Regions from separate parts of the Homo sapiens genome. Here region 1 is linked to region 2. Evidence: promoter capture Hi-C in 16 types of primary human blood cells and fetal thymus (Javierre and others, 2016). All regions are on one chromosome and are shown on one strand. Each heading gives the region's core, a stretch centred on a gene start or on the middle of the fragment in contact. The rest is flanking DNA. Distances are from core to core; before and after follow the strand shown. Region 1 overlaps SARS2 (seryl-tRNA synthetase 2, mitochondrial). Region 2 holds the start of FAM98C (family with sequence similarity 98 member C).

Region 1 (3,062 bases), core at 60-2,559, 520 kb after region 2:
TCTCCTCAGGTTTCCCTGCCTCGGGCACCCACGGCAGGGCCTGACACCCAGGTGGGCGAGGGAAGCGGAGAGGCCTCACTCACAAACACTGCTCCGCGGAGAAGGTCTGGCACCGTCATGGGGGTGAAGCCCTGTTCAGGGGAGAGGATGAGTGAGCAGAGCTGGGACCCCTACCAGACCCCAAGCTCAGCCCTGAAGAAGGGGTGCTGCAGAGCCCCTTCCTCCTCAGACGAAACTGAGGCAGGGGCTGGCGCAGTGGCTCACCCATGTAATCCCAGCACTTTGGGAGGCTGAGGTGGGCGGATCACTTGAGGCCAGGAGTTTGAGACCAGCCTGGCCAACATGGCAAAACCCCCTCTCCACTAAAAAGGCAAAAATTAGCCGGCATGGAGATCGTGCTACTGCACTCCAGTCTGGGTGACAGAGCGAACTCTGTCAAAAAGAAAAAAAAAAAAATTAGCCAGCATGGTGGCATGTGCCTGTAATCCCAGCTACTCAGGAGGCTGAGGCAGGAGAATTACTTAAACCCGGGAGGTGGAGGTTGCAGTGAGCCAAGATTGCACCACTGTACTCCAGCCTGGGTGACAGAGCGAGACTCCGTCTCAAAAAACAAAAAAGTACAGATTTGGCCACACCCTCCCCTGCTTAAAAGCCTCCCATGGCTCCCTAGTACCCTCTGAAAATGTCTGAGTTCCTCACCGTGACCAATGCTCCATGCAACCAGTCCCTGCCATGTTTCAATGGATGCTATGATTCCCAAATGCTCCCTTTATACCGCAAGCAGGCAGTGAGGTGCAATGATTACAAGCACAGGCTCTAGGCCCAGCTCCAGACTGGCTGTGAGACCTTGGGCTATAGGTACCTCCCCTCTCTGGGCCTCAAGCCCTCTCTGTAAAGTGGGGATGATGACAGCACCCACTTCATAAAGTTGTCGTAAGGACTAAATGTGTCAATGATACACATGAAGCTCTGAGAGCAGTGACTAGGGCAGAGCAGAGATCACTCCCATCCCCGTTGGGCCCTCTGAGCTCAGCTTCGATGCCACCCCCTCCAGGCAGCCCTCCTATCTTGGCCCATACCCGGCGGAGAAGCTTGTTGAATGTGAAGTTGACCAGGCCGTGCTGCAGGAGGGCTCCAGCCCCGCGCAGGTAATAGGACCGGTGGCCAGACACGTGGGACAGGCGCCTGGGAGACAGACAGACAGGCGGGTGCACATGGGCCAGGCTGGCAGGGAATGTGGGGATGAAAACACCCGGGGGAAGAGGCCCGGCTGCTGGGTGGGGCTGGGGCATCAAAGATTCATGGCATTTCCACATCTCACGCTGAGGCCAATGAGGCAGGAGCCAGCTGTCGGGGTGCAGGCAGCTGGGAGAGGGGCGTGGGGAGCCAGGGGAGGGGCTCACTTCTGACGGATGATGTCGAGTTTCTCGCCAATTTCCAGGTGGCCCCGAGGTTGGAAGGAGAAAACTGGATGTGGGTGAAAAGCACCGGTGTAAGGCAGCGGGGAGAGAGGGATGGGGCCCAGATAGAAGCTTCCAGAGACAGCAGAGAGGAGGGACGGTGAGAGAAAATAAAGGAGGGGCAGGAGGAGAGAAGGGAGAAGAAGACACGGAAAGGGAGGGAAAGGGAAGAAAAGACAGACAGGAAGGGAGGGAGATAAAAACAGAGACAGGGAGAGGAAATGAGAGGAGGCAGAGAGGGAAATAAGAGGGCGCGGGGTGGGGAAGGCAGAGTTAGAAACAGAGGAGAGAGGCCAGAGGAGAAGGAAACACCACGAGGAAGGGAGGAGGAGAATCAGAGAGGAGGCACAGAGTTGGGGAGAAAAAGCCCCGGAGACAGGGACCAAAGCAGGGGGGTCAGAGAGAGAGACAGAGACACACACACACTCACACACATACATACACACACAGAGATACACACAGAGGTACGAAGACACACACACATATACAGACACACAGAGACAGACACATACACAGACACGCAGAGACAGACACACAGATACACGGATACAGACACACAAAGACAGACACGCACACACAGATACACACAAAGACACAGATACACAGACACAGATACAGACATACACACAGAGATACACGGAGATATGCAGATACACACACAGACACACAGAGACAGACACATACACACAGACACAGAGAAAGACACACAGATACATACACACAGATACATAGACACACACAGACACACACACACACAAACACAGATATACACACACAGAGATAGACACACACATAGACACACACACACAGACACAGACACAGATACAGACACACACAAACACAGACACACACACACAGATACAGACACACACAGATACACAGATACAGACACACACAGATACACAGATACAGACACACACATACAGATACAGACACACAGATACAGACACACATGACACACAGTCACACAACACATACATACACGACACACACTCACACACATACGATACAATCACACAACACAGGGTGAGACTGCCCAATGGTGAAGGGGGAGAGAATGAAAACCCAAGGACCGCCTCTCAGAGACAGCTCGAGCTCGGCCAAGGCAGGAAGCTGGAGCCACCTCCTGTACCGCCAGGAGTTCTCCAGGCTCCAGACATGTTCCCAGACCCCAGGGGCCCCCACCCCGAGACCCCAGAACCCCCACACCGCAGGGCTTGTCAGCTCCCAGGCCTGGGGTGTGGCCCACCTGGCTTGTCTCCGACCATGTGGAGCACTCGAGCCTGGCTCTCATCCCCGACGGGCTGCAGGGAGACAGCAGGAGTCACGGAAAGGTGGCACTAGGTGGGCCCCTGGCCTCCCTGCCACCCAGCACGGTGCTCACCACGTCTGGGTGGGTCTGGTTGGGCAGCTTCAGCGCCTGCAGGTAGAACTGCTCCTCAAGCTGGGCCTCCCTGGGGTACAGGTGAACAAGCTCCTTCCGGATCTCCCGGCCACGTGCCCGCAGACCCTGGTACTTGGGGTCCTGGGGGCAGCACAGGTGGGCTCAGCCCGGGAGAGGGTCAGGACTCCCTCATCCAGTGTGACCTTGATCCTGACCGG
Region 2 (2,820 bases), core at 60-2,559:
TGCATTGCACCTGCTCACTCCAAGGCCTAAGAGGGAGAGGAGTGAAGGCCTAACAGGCACATCGTGATCGATGAGGAGGGCCTGGTGTGTGAGGGGTGTGCTGGGATTCCTGGGTCCCTTATGTAATTCAAACCCTGAGGTGGAAAGGAGGGAGGAAGTTTTGGATTTTAGGCAGAGTTGGGTGAACACCACTCCGTCTGGGCTGCTTTAAGAGCAGAGGACAGGGCCAGGAACACTGGCTCAAGCCTGTAATCCCAAGCTTTGGAAGGCTGAGAGGGAAGGATTGCTTGAACACTGGAGTTAGAGGCAAACCTGGGCGACATAGCTAGACCCCTCTCTACAAAACTTTATTTCTTTTTTGACACGGAGTCTTGCTCTGTCCCCAGGCTGGAGTGCAGTGGCGCGATCTTGGCTCACTGCAGTCTGTGTCTCCCGGGCTCAAGCAATTCTCCTGCCTCAGCCTCCCAAATAGTGGTGACTACAGGCGTGTGCCACCACGCCCGGCTAATTTTTGTATTTTTATTAGAGATGAGGTTTCACCATGTGCCCAGGCTGGTCTCGAACTCCTGACCTCAAGTGATCCACCCACCTCAGCCTCCCAAAGTGCTGGGATTACATGCGTGAGCCACCGTGCCCGGCCTCTACAAAACTTTAAAAAAAAAAAAAAATTGGCCGGTTGCAGTGGCTCACGCCTGTAATTCCAGCACTTTGGGAGGCCGAGGCAGGCGGATCGCTTGAACCCAGCAGTTGGAAACCAGGCTGGGCAACATGAGGAAACCTTGTCTCTACAAAAAAATTAAAAACAAATCAGCCAGGCGCGGTGGTCTGCGCCTGTGGTCCCAGCTACTAGGTGTAAGCCACCAAGGCTGACTGATTTTTAAAAATTTAGCTGGGAGGCTGAGGCGGGAGGATCTCTTGAGCCCAGAAGGTCGAGACTGCAGTGAGCCGCGATGGCGCCACTGCAGTCCAGCCTGAACGATAGAGCGAAATCTGCCTCAAAAACAAACCAACAAAACACCAGCAGAAGACAACTGAGGGAGGAAAAGGAAAATGGCACCGAAGTTGTTTTTATGTCGCCGCAACAGTGACACCCGCCGCCAGCTTGTCTTGACAGCGGAGATCCCGAACGCACTGCAATTTACAGCTCCAGGGGGCGTTCCTACAACCCCGACAGGTTAGCCGAGGGGCGGGGCGGGCGGGCCCCGGGGCGGGTTCGGCGTCCTCCTGCGCCAATGGGAGCACCCAAGCCCCTGCGCGGGAAGATGCCGATTGGTCAGTGCCGCCGGACGCTGCGGGGAGCTCGTGCGCGCGGCGCTTTTGGGGCGGAGCCTGCCACCGGCCGCCAGGGGGCGCGCCGAGACCACACTTTCATGGAGGCGGTGAAGGCGGAAGCGTGGGAGGGGGCCGCGGTGGCCCAGGACCTGCTGGCTCTGGGGTAAAAGGGTGTGCGGTGAGGCTGGTGGGTGCAGGAAGGCCAGGTCTGCCCCCTGGACGCGGACGAAAAGGGATTCCCAGTGACATCCCCGCCCCCTCCCGCTGCCTCGGTCCCCACAGGTATGGAGGTGTCCCGGGGGCGGCGTCGCGGGGCGCCTCATGCCCAGACTTCAGGGGGCTGTGCGTGCGGCTGGCGGCGGAGCTGGCGACGCTGGGCGCCCTCGAGCAGCAGCGAGAGGCGGGCGCGGAGGTGCTGAGCGCCGGCGACGGTAAACACGGAGCGGGAGGGTGGCAGGGGGGCCGCCACGGGGCCACCGAGCCCTGACACCCCTGTCCTCGCAGGCCCTGGCGCGGAGGAGGACTTTCTGCGGCAGCTCGGCAGCCTGCTGCGGGAGCTGCACTGCCCGGATCGCGCGCTCTGCGGCGGGGATGGCGCGGCTGCGCTTCGGGAACCCGGTGCCGGACTGCGCCTGCTGCGTGAGTCCCGGGATGCAGAAGTGGCAAGGCCATGGCCTCCGGAGCGGCGGGCTCTGACTTTTTAGGGGAAATCGAGGTTCCCAAGGGGTGTGGTCAGAACTTTGGGGCGGCCCAGAGGGTACGAGGTGGGTGGGGTGAGCATGTTGGGGCAAGCAGAGCGCTCTAAAATGGGCGGGGGTAGAATTTCGTTTTATTTTTTATTTATTTTATTATTATTATTTTTGAGATGGAGTTTCACTCTTGTTACCCAAGCTGGAGTGCAGTGGCGTGATCTCGGCTCACTGCAACCTCCACCTCCCAGGTTCAAGTGATTCTCTTGCCTCAGCCTCCCGAGTAGCTGGGATTACAGGCGCGCGACACCACACTCGGCTATTTTTAGTAGAAACGGGGTTTCACCATGTTAGCCAGGCAGGTCTCGAACTCCTGACCCCAGGTGATCTGTCCACCTCGGCCTCCCAAAGTGTTGGGATTACAGGCGTGAGCCCACCACGCCCGGCCCGGGGTTAGAATTTTAATTGGAGGGCCTAGGAGCTCAAGTGGGTTGGATTAGGAGGAAGGCTTGAGGTTTCAAAGTGGGCAGGAGTGGAATTCGTAGGAGGGGACAGGGTCTCAAGGTGGGGCTTACTCTGGAAGGCTTTAGGTGGGGGGGACTAGAAGGTGGAGGATTTTGTTTTGTTTTGTTTTTAAGTGGAGGTGGGGTCTCCCTATGTTGCCCTGTCTGGTCTTCAACTCCTGGCTTCAAGCGATCCTCCCACCTCAGCCTCCCAAGGTGTTGGGATTACAGGCTACAGGCATGAGCCACTGTGCCTGGGCAAAGGTGGAGGTTTTAAAGCCGGTGGAGCCTCTTTTTTTTTTGAAATGGAGTCTCGCCCTGTTGCCAGGCTGGAGTACAGTGACATGATCTCAGCT

Evidence for each region. Contacts are between HindIII fragments. The CHiCAGO score rates a contact against its expected background, and 5 or more counts as called.
Region 1: a fragment that was not itself captured here is called in contact with the fragment with the promoter of FAM98C in region 2 in 9 of 17 cell types (activated CD4 T cells, monocytes, naive CD4 T cells and 6 more); the score reaches 8.7 in activated CD4 T cells.

Annotation. Positions count from the first base shown.
Region 1 is chr19:38,918,683-38,921,744 of GRCh38, forward strand. It overlaps SARS2 (seryl-tRNA synthetase 2, mitochondrial), which reads right to left. Exons shown (of 16, transcript NM_017827.4): 4 at 2,845-2,985; 5 at 2,710-2,764; 6 at 1,404-1,467; 7 at 1,080-1,185; 8 at 84-131. Among named protein-coding and RNA genes, the nearest start is that of CCER2, 8.0 kb to the left of the region's middle. RefSeq lists an enhancer at 1-327. The HindIII fragment of the contact is 441 bases long and covers 1,090-1,530 here.
Region 2 is chr19:38,401,784-38,404,603 of GRCh38, forward strand. FAM98C (family with sequence similarity 98 member C) reads left to right here and starts at 1,310. Exons shown (of 8, transcript NM_174905.4): 1 at 1,310-1,435; 2 at 1,555-1,703; 3 at 1,777-1,911. The coding sequence starts at 1,371. RefSeq lists silencers at 1,097-1,426, 1,617-1,816. The HindIII fragment of the contact is 11,725 bases long and covers 258-2,820 here.